Linked DNA regions of Homo sapiens: region 2 is linked to region 1. The links are contacts of gene promoters, found by promoter capture Hi-C in human tissues and cell types (Jung and others, 2019). All regions are on one chromosome and are shown on one strand. The core of a region is centred on a gene start or on the middle of the fragment in contact, and the rest is flanking DNA. Distances in the headings are between cores, read along the strand shown. Region 1 holds the start of OR4D2 (olfactory receptor family 4 subfamily D member 2). Region 2 has its middle 32 kb from the start of SRSF1.

Region 1 (5,343 bases), core at 1,812-4,311:
GGGCCGGGAGATGGCAATGAGGCGGTCAAAGGCCATCACTGAGAGGAAGAAGACCATGGCACCTCCCAAAAAGTGGAAGAAGAAGATCTGACCCATGCAGCCCTGGTAAGAGATGGTTTTCTTCTCAGAGAGGAGGTCCACTAGCATTTTGGGAGCAGTGACTGAAGAGAAACAGAGGTCTAGGACAGCCAGGTTTCGGAGCAGAAAGTACATGGGTGTGTGGAGCTGGGAATCAGAGGTCACTGTGATGATGATAAGGATGTTTCCCATAACAGTGGTGATGTAGACAAACAGGAACATTAGAAACAGGAAACGCTGGAGCTCCCGAGTCTGCGAGAGCCCCAGGAAGACAAAGTCTGATACCCACGTGAGGTTCCCTGTTTCCATGGTGTTTTCTCCATACACCTGAAGAAAATGAACCACAGACACAGATACATGAAGTCACTACTTTCCCTTTCAGGGCTCAGGGGCTCAGAACCAAGGTTTTAGGCCCATATGATGAGCATCCTTATGTGTAGACCATTATACTAGGTGCTGTCTTGTCTCTGGATCGTTTACAAGTGGGTGCTGGAATATACATTCCTGAAATCTTAACGCCATCCAGAAGTATATACAACCTGCCTTTCAAAGATTCATATAGTGGTGGGAAGACACTTGGAGTCAGATACATCTGAAGTCAAATTTCAGGTCTTTCATTTCATTGTGATTTGACCATGAGTAACTTACTTAATCTTTCTGGGCCTCAGTTTTCACGGGAATTTGTAAGGTAGAAATAAAAATACCTGCTTTGTAGAATTTTCTGAGGACTTAAGTAGAATGATAGATATAAAGTTCCTAAAACAGTGTATGGAATAATCAATGGCAATTACTCACCTGTGTGAATTCTCTTAATCTAAAGATATCCTCTCTTCCACTCTGTAATAAGATTCTTTGCCAATTATTTTTCACATGACATTTAATACATCATCGTGTTAATGGATTTTCCTTGTCTATATTTTCCCTCCACAATTCAACTATTAAGTCCAAAGCCTATATCTGGATCTCACAATTTATTTGTGCCCTGCAGTACCCATTCTTAATGACAGTTAACTTAAAAAGCTCTTGGTGTTGACTGCTGCATGGGTGAATAGCTATCAGGTGCACAAGTTCAGCACAAGGAAGACACTGGATGCAGCTGGATGCCTGAGACATCCAGTAGTTCCCCTGCCCTCCACTGTGGGCGGCCCCTTATGAGTGAGGCATATGTGGTGGTGCTGAGACAAGAGGGAGAAAAGGGAGGGAGAGTCATTGGATTGAGAAATAGATGATGAATATTGTATGAAGGGGACTCAGAGAGCTTCTGAATGAAACAGGAATTTTACAAGATGTTACTGAATCCAAGGGTGGGAGACAAAGGAAGTTGTTGAAAGAAAACAAATAGAAATAGACAAAGGAATAAAGGGAGATGAAGGAATAGAGCAAGTGAAGGTAAAGGAAGTGGAAAAGTGCTGGGGAGGTGGAGAAAACGGGACTAAAGGGACAGAAGAAGATGGAGGAGCCGGGAGAGGTGGCTCACGCCTGTAGTCCCAGAAATTTGGGAGGCGGAGGCGGATGGATCACTTGAAGTCAGAAGTTTGAGACCAGCCTGGCCAACATGGTGAAACTCCGGATCTGTACTAAAAATACAAAAAAATTAGCCGGGCGTGGTGGCACACACCTGTAATCTCAGCTACTTGGGAGGCTGAGGCAGGAGAATCGCTTGAAGCTGGTTGGAGGCTGCAGTGAGTGGAGGTCATGCCACTGCACTCCAGCCTGGGTGACAGAGCGAGACTCTGTCTCAAAAAATCAAAAACAAAAAAAAAAGAAGAAGAAGATGGAGGGTGACAGGGGAGGGGGTCAGTGGTCTCCCCCCTCCCCCTGCCCTGTCTCAATCTCTCTTACCCTCTCTTACCTGGCCTATTGCAATCTATTATCTACAATATTATAGGTCATTCTAATCTTATTCTGCTCCTTCAGTTTACTTCCACTCCAGGACACCTTCTTTTTTTTTTTTTTTTTTTTTTTGTGACGGAGTCTCGCTGTCGCCCAGGCTGGAGTGGCGCGATCTCGGCTCACTCACTGCAAGCTCCGCCTCCCGGGTTCACGCCATTCTTTTACCTCAGCCTCCCGCGTAGCTGGAACTACAGGCGCCCACCACCTCGCCCGGCTAATTTTTTTTGTAACACGGTTTCACTGTGTTAGCAGGATGGTCTCGATCTCCTGACCTCGTGATCCGCCCGCTTCCGCCTCCCAAAGTGCTGGGATTACAGGCATGAGCCACCGCGCCTGGCCTCACTCCAGGACACCTTCTACACAGCTGTCCATGAGACCCCTCTGACTCAGATGTGATCATATTCCTCATTGTTATAATATTTGATTTGCTCACAGCTTAAAACTCAAACTCTCAGAAGCCACCTAAAATGCTCTGTGGATAAACTGAGGGTGGAAAAACATACCTACATACGTGCATGCAACTCTCTCTCAGCATTTCATACAAGACTATAAAAAATAGCCTCCCTATACCTTTCTAATCAGTATCACTGTCACCTGGGAACTGATTGCTGTTCAAAGAACTCATAGCTTCCATGTAGGCAGTATATTTCATTATTTTCATATCTTTGGTAATAAATCCTGTTTCCTGAAATGCCTTTTGCTACCTTCTCAACCTAGAGGCGATAAGAGAAATATCACTTTCCCTTTGACTCCTCCCCCCATTTCTCTCATGCAGAATTAATTCCTTATTTCTCTGTGTTCCAATAGCATTTGATAAATACCTCCATTATAGCATTTATCATTTTTTCTATTGCTTCTCTTAACTAGATTGTAAATTCAATAACTTAGTAAGCCCAGAGTCTATGACAGCATCTCTGATTTAGCACTTGCTCAGAAATGTTTGCCAACTTAATATATTAGCAGGTAAATGTGACTTTGTTTTATGTGACAATGTCGAGAATCTTGTGATTTTCCTCACCGTTGATGTCCTTTGCTGTGAGCATCCTCCCTCTAAGTCTCATAGGGCGAATTCTGTGCTTTGTTGTTTTCCTATGTAATCGGAGGCATCCGTTTTCAACATCACATTCCCCTTGCAGTTTTTCTTGAGTCTCTGCTCATCCTTTAGACTTACTATCGTCAGGTCTATGTCACTTGCTTATTACTCCCACCCTCTAGCAGGTGTTGCAAGATCTTTCTTACAGCTGATCTCTGTGCAGCTGAGGAAACACTGGTCTCTCACCTCCCTTTAGCCCAGAATGGGGCTTCAGTGTACATCTTCTTGGAGATCCTTTGCTTCAGCCTCACAGTTTCTTAGCTCCTGCCCTTACTTCATGAATAATACCATGGGTGAGACCCCAGGGGAAGGGGGAATATCCTTTGGGAGAAACTATTGGACAGGGCTCAGGAAGCTGAGCTGGGCTGATTATCACTGGGGCCAAGGGAGCAATGGGAGTTGTTAAAAAGTTTCTAAATGTCTCAAAAGCACACACTCTTTGAGAGGTCTTCCTTGGGGGGCCCAAAGTACCAAGCACATTGAAAATTTTAGAGATTTGAGGAATGGGTAATATTCAGGCCAAGATCCAAAAGGACAAGAGGGTCTTCAAAAAAAAGGAGACTCTGAGAGTTTTAGGAGAATTTCTTTCTTAGACCAGTGACACCTACCCTTGAGAGAATTACCTGAAGGCCTTGTTAAAAGGCAGACTTCTGTTCCCAGCCCAGAATTTCTCATTCAGTACATCAATGGTAAGACCAAGAATTTGCATTTGTAGCAAGTTCTCAGATAATGCTGATGCACCTGTTCCAGGGACCAGACATTGAGAACCAACGACTTGCTCTTCAGCACAATGGATAGTTCTCTTTCATGGTGTTGTCAAGGTAACTGGTTTGATTTCTTCTCCTTTTAAACTGAATTGATCTTTACATAGGCAACGTCATGGATGGGAAAATGTCTGCATACTAAAATGAAAACTTAATTACCCCATAAATCTTGTTCTTCATCTTGTCAACCAATACCCCCACAGTTGATTCACTACCCATATCAATTATACTCACACCATCTACAAAGTGCTAGCATTATTTACATGTCAATTATTACTCCCTTTAATACAAGGATTGGCACAAGAAGCCCATATATTTTCTAATTATGAGGAACTGATTAAAAATTGGAATTAACCAACACTGTAAGCTTGATGTGCTGTAAAATCTGTGTGATTTCTCACAGCTCTCTGATCCACGTGAGGTTCTCAGGTTGGTCTGAGTTCTTTCATTGCGAATGTTTATACTTGGCAAAATAAAGACTCTGCCTCTGGGGATAAGAACACGAAGTGACGTTCTTTCACATACAAGAGATGTCAATTTAAAAAAAACACAAATTCTTCCCATTATTTGGAGCTTTAGTCTACTTTAAAATTGAGCCACTCAGGAAAGTAGTCTAGATTGATGGTGGGGATGGGCACAGGCCTTGTTAATGTTATTGACTCTCAGATGGGTGATTTTGAATTACCTGGATTAATTCTTTATGATTCCGATTTAGCTTTCAGTAATAGAGACCTGGTAGGTTCCAGTTTATATATTTCCCCTGTCAAAAGTACAGGTAGGTCGTAAAATGTCCATCAAAGCTCATCTTTACTGCAACCACTAGCCAGTATAATGGTTGCCAGTGTATGAATGGCCTGGATGGAGTAATTATGCTAAAGACTCAGTCATGGAAAATTGAGCTGAGAAAATTATTTCTATATGTATCACATTTCTAAGAAAATAAATGTTTGTCAGACTTAGCTACTATTATAATGTCAAGCCACTAAACGGATACAGGACACGTGTAGAGGAAATATCATGTAAATTCTCATGCAGGAAGCCCAGCATCATTGATAATTAATCATTCTCCCTTTGTGATGGTCTGTGTTATGTGTCAACTTGACTAGGCTATAGTTTCCAGTTATTCAATCAAACTCTAATCTAGGTGTTGCTGTGAAGGTATTTTGTAGATAAAATTGATGTCTATAATCAGTTGACTTTAAGTAAAGGAGGTTATCCTAGATCATCTGGGTGTGCCTGATTCAATCAGTTGAAAGAACTAAAGAGAAGAACTGAGGTTTCCCTGAAGGAGGAAAATTCTGCATGTAGACAGCAACTTCAGCTGATGGCCTGCCCTGCAGATTACGTACTTGCCTAGCCAGCTTCACAATCATGTAAGCCAAGTCCTTGCAATAAATACCTTTATCTCTCTCTCTCTCTCTCTCTCTCTCTCTCCTCTCTCTCTCTCTCAGAGAACATAGCCTCAGTAAGAGATGTCTTAAAGGCATAAATTCTCATAAATATAGCCATATTCAT
Region 2 (5,343 bases), core at 845-3,344, 130 kb after region 1:
ATGTCATGTTAATGCTCAGCATTCAGAAAATAGAAGCATTTGAGTTCAAAATGTGTCATAAATCAAATGTAATCAGATGTTAAAATAGGAATTTCAGCTGAATCACAAATAGATACCAAATTCCAGAGTGAAGTGCTAGACCAGGATTTACAAAGTAAGTGGCCAAGAATATATATGTACAAAAGAGTTGAGGGGAAGATTTAGATGAGAATTTCTTTGGAGAGAGCTGTGCTGCGAGTCCTACCCCATCCCTATCTCAATCATAGGTGTCAAGCCTGAGAAACCAAAATGGCAAGAGGTACAGCAGAGTACACACGGGAGGTACACATGAGGGTTACACATGGGAAGTAACTGTACTCACAGCGTTGCTGGGGCAAAGGTGTGAGCCATGACCGAGAGAGGGTTCTGCCCTGGTGTGGTCAGAGAACTCTACTCGAGAGAGTAGCCTGGAGGGACAAAGAGATCTCAGCCAAGAGAAGCTGGAGGTGTGGCCAGATTATGAGGGATGTGGATGGAGTAAGCAGAGAGCCTGAGGAAAGCATATCACCTGAATTGAGAGGTCCCCAGCAATTGGGGGGGTGGGGGGGGGCCGAAACCACCCACAAAAGTGTCACCATTAAATACTTGCCAAGTATAGGAAACCTCCCTGCCAGATCCTCACAGCAGGACAAATCCCATGGAAGCTTTCCTGCTTCTTTCCACTGCAAGGATCAGAAATCACAGTTTAAAAGAAGAGAGAGGGGGGACAAAAGTGCCCCCTCCTCTAAGTGCCCAGCCTGAACTGAAGGAGAGGGGAGAAGCCTCAATTTTATGTCATATTTGGAGTCTTAACGATTACATAAACATTTTAATCACTGAGTTGAGAACAGACAAAAGGTGACTAAGAAAGACCTAGAAAGTCATGGGATCTGCTTGAATTTTTATCCAGGTGCAGGTGACGTGCCAGCTCCACCAAATTTAAAGGGTTAATGAAAGAGGAAACTTGAGTTTCTTTAGAAATACATCCCATGAGTTATGCTTGTTTAATGTAACAGTTGTTCAAAGAATGTACTGATTTGTTAAATTGCTTTGCTACGAAAGCTAGAAACAGTTATGCCATTTATAAATAGACCCCGCTCCTGGGATGATGTTCAGCTATTGGGAGGAGATAGGCCAATGAGAGACAGATCTCCACTCTCAACGTCACAGCCTTGAGGGAAGTGTCCAGGCAGGAGCAGACCTGCTTCTACAGGCCTGGGGAAATTGCTACCCAAGGTCAGGCCTTCGTCATGGTCTGCAGCCGGTGGAACACCACTGGCCTATTCTGAGGATGCCCTGAGACTTGAGACTCTGCCAGCTTGCCTTGGACAGGAGAGACGGAGAATTATGCGGCTGAGCCTTGGTGCAAGAGGAGCCACGAGCACAGAATCTGCTCCATTTGTCCAGATGGGAGAAATTCTACCCTGAGCTGGGTTGAAGGGGGTGTGGAGCCATTGGTGCCACTTGCTTCTTGGTTCGCAGTGTGCCATCAATAGCCTCCTTGTACATCTGACTGCCTGGTATAAGCAGACTCACTTCAGCTGGAGCATGCTAGTGGGCAAGGGAGGATGGAAATAGAGCATGTGGAAATTACTCAAGTTGGCTCAGAGGTCATGCATCTGGAAGGCAACCCAACGTGTTCATCAGACATGTCCCAGCAAGTTTGAATTCAAGCTGAGACCTACCCCCCAGGTCCCTTCTCCCTGCCCCATCACATACATACACACTCATACATGCAACATTAGGAAGTAAAATATGAAAATGCCAAGAGTGGAACCCAGGACTTCTGGCACACTCCTGCCCACTGCAATAGTGTCCCCAGCGGCCTCCTTGCCTCAAAATTTTCCTCCTCAAATGAGGCCTGCACATCACCACCAGATTAATATTCCCAAATCCCTGTTTTAACCTTTCCCGTTTCTCAAGTATTGATCTTCCTGCCCTGGGAGGGCTCAACTCGTCTACCTTTTTGATCTTCTCTGGGGCTTTTCTCCCATACAGCCCTCCTTCTTCTGTGGCTGCACCTCTCTCTTTATTGGCCCTGAACAGGCTTCAAGTTTCCCTCTGACCTGTTCACACACTTCCCCCAGTGCGCAGAATCCCACCAGCCTCAGGCACATGAGCCAGAGAAGCTGGCAGTGGACTGACACTGTGAGACCTAATCACCTCTTCTGAGTCTGCCACTCCACTCTTCAGACCTGTGACCTGCAGGAAGCAGCTTCCATCTCTAGGTCTCCTTTCTTCTATCATAAAATTATTAGACTGGATAATTTTGAAGTTTTCTTTTGCAGCTCAAAAATTCTATAACTGCCCCAGTCAGCTTATGTCTGAATACAGTCTCAACTCAGTAACTAAAATGTTTATATAATCATTACATGTCTCTCCTTCATCTCTGCTGAAAACCCAAGGAGAGAAATCATATTTAGAGGGTAGCACAAAGGATAAAACGATCTGTCATGGGATTTAGGTTCACTTGGGTCTAGAATTACCTAAAAGGCAATTCCAGACCCAAGTGAACCTAAATCCCATGACAGATCGTTTTACCTTTTGTGTCACCCTCTAAATGTGATTTCTCTCCTCGGATTTTCAGCAAAGATGAAGGAGAGACATATAATGATTATATAAACATTTTAATTACTGAGTTGAGACTGTATTCATACATAAGGTGACTAAGAAAGACCTAGAAGGTTATGGAATCTGCTTGAATTTTTATCCAGGTGCAGGTGACGTGCCAGCTCCACCAAATTTAACTTTGCATTACTTTTGAGCATCTCAAATTTTCTTTGCTTTTGAGCATCTCCACCAGCAAAGGAAACTTTGTCTTTTTTTTCTTAGCATATTCTGGGTCTCCAAATTTGTGTTGTTTATGGCAACAGCTTGACTTGAGGCCCTGCTTCAAATGGTTGAAGGATTTTAAAGATTCTGCTGTCCAAGCTTTAATTAGACACAAAAGTTTCTGGGTTCATTTGGGGCCACAAGAATGGATTTTTTTTTTTTTTTAAGAGAGACAAGGTCTTGCTCTGTTGCTCAGGCTGGAACACAGTGGCACAGTCTTGGCTCACTGCAGCCTCAATCTCCGGGGCTCAGGTGATCCTCCTGCCTCAGCCTCCTGAGTACCTGGGACTACAGGTGTGTGCCACCATGCCTCACTAACACAAGAATAGGATTCTAAAAGAGAGAAATGGCAGAGGTTTAGCTAGAGTATTTTCCGACTAAATTTTCATCACTCAGGAAAGGCTAGAGACTACCACATAACAAGAACCTTGCCAAAGACGTTGAGATTTTGCCTGCTTATCTGCTCTTGGCAACTGTTCTGCTTCCACTCTGGGGATCAAGGATCACAGTGCCTACCCTCCCTTTCAATCATAAGTCTATTTGAGAAACCCATTCAGATGGACATAGGAGCATCAAAAATGCAAACATTTGCATTAAGGACTGGGCTCCCTGGGTACCAATCCTAGACAGCTGTTCTGTTAGTTGGATGACCATAGGCTAGAGTCGTAACCTCTCTGTGCCTCAGTTTATTATCTATCAAATGAAAAATAACAATAGGATTATCATGAGGATTAAATAGAATAATGCATGTGAAGCCCTTAGCACAATGCTTGGCACAGGTGATTCATAGTACGATAAGGTATAAATAACCACACCAAGTGCTCACAGTCACTCAGCTTTGTGCTCCTGAGAGTGAGGTTTGATAATGACAGAACACAGAGAATGCAAGGGCCCAGGGTCTAATCCTTGTTCTCCTTATCTCCTTGCCTTTGACATGAGTTCCAAAGTATCCCTCCACCTATCTACCCTTCAGCACCATGCTACAAAAATAGGAAGTAACATGCAGGCAGCAAGCAGTATGATGAGTTATTACGAGTGGCCCATAGAAAAGGCTTAAGAGGGCCAGCCACGGTGGCTCACGCCTGTAATCCCAGCACTTTGGGAGGCCAAGGCGGGCAGACCACTTGAGGCCAGGAGTTCGAGACCAGCCTGGCCAACATCATGAAACCCTATCTCTACTAAAAATAGAAAGAATTAGCTGGGTGTGGTGGCAGGTGCCTGTAGTCCCAGCTACTTGGGAGGCTGAGGCAGGAGAATCGCTTGAGCCTGGGAGATGGAGGTTGCAGTGAGTTGAGATTGGCCCACTGCACTCCAACCGGGATGACAGAGTGAGACTCCATCTCAAAAATAAAAATAAAGAAAAAGCTTAAGAGAAAGTGAAGGTAAAATGTAAGAACTGGGGCAGGGCAGGGGGGTGAGAGGACCTGGACTCCATTCACCCTTGAATTCTCTCTTTACAGATAAGCAAAGGAAAATCCATACAGTAATAGTGAATCAATGGTAGGACTAATTCAGGGAGATCTTGGTAAATGGCAGACCCAGGGAAGTAGTGCTAAGTCAAGTTTAGGAAGCTGTGAAGAAACTAGTATTAGTTTTTGCCATTAATTGCCATTATAATTGCCATTTAGATTTATTGCCTAATAAATCTAAACCATTTTCATTAACCACCCCAAAAACTCTATACCCATTGGCAGTCACCTCCGATTTTCTCCCAATTCATACCCTAGGCAACCACTGATCTACTTTGTCTCTATGGATTTGTCTAATTAGCTTATTTCCCTTAGCATAAGGTTTTCAAGTTTCATTCATATTGTAGCATGTATCAGTACTTCGTTTCTTTTTATTGTGAGAGAATATTCTGCTGCATGGGTATGTACATTGTGCTTATCTACTCATTAGTTGATAGAAACGGGTTGTTTCCACCTTTTGGCTGTTGTAAATAATGCTGCTATAAACATTCATGTACAAGCTTTTGTGTGGCCATGTATTTTCCTTCTTTGGGGGATATATACCTAGGAGTGGAAATGTCAGATTATGTGGTAACTCTGTTTATCCACGTGACGAGCGGCCAGATTGTTTCCCCAAGTGCTGCACCTTTTACACTCCTACCAGCAGTGTATGAGGGTTCCCATTTCTTCACGACCTCATCAACTTGCTACTATCTAACTTCTATTATTATTATTATTATTATTTTTTTTTTTTTTTTGGAGATGGAGTCTCGCTCTGTCACTAAGGGTGGAGTGCAGTGGCATGATCTCGGCTCACTGCAACCTCCGCCTCCCAGGTTCAAGCAATTCTCCTGCCTCAGCCTCACGAGTAGCTGGGACTACAGGCGCATGCCCCCATGCCCAGCTAACTTTTTGTATTTTATTAGAGACAAGGTTTCACCATGTTGCCCAGGCTGTTCTCGAACTCCTGAACTCAGGCAATCCGCCCGCCTCGGCCTCCCAAAGTGCTAGGATTACAGGTGTGAGCCACCGCGCCCGGCCTATC

What was found. Contacts are between HindIII fragments. The study calls those that stand out against the background at their distance.
Region 2: a fragment that was not itself captured here is called in contact with the fragment with the promoter of OR4D2 in region 1 in 2 of the 25 tissues and cell types used here (small bowel and spleen).

The regions. Positions count from the first base shown.
Region 1 is chr17:58,164,700-58,170,042 of GRCh38, reverse strand. It overlaps OR4D2 (olfactory receptor family 4 subfamily D member 2), which reads right to left and starts at 3,061. Exons shown (of 2, transcript NM_001004707.4): 1 at 2,990-3,061; 2 at 1-405. The coding sequence starts at 387. The HindIII fragment of the contact is 7,868 bases long and covers 1-5,343 here.
Region 2 is chr17:58,036,475-58,041,817 of GRCh38, reverse strand. No RefSeq gene overlaps it. Among named protein-coding and RNA genes, the nearest start is that of SRSF1, 32 kb to the right of the region's middle. The HindIII fragment of the contact is 4,846 bases long and covers 1-4,517 here.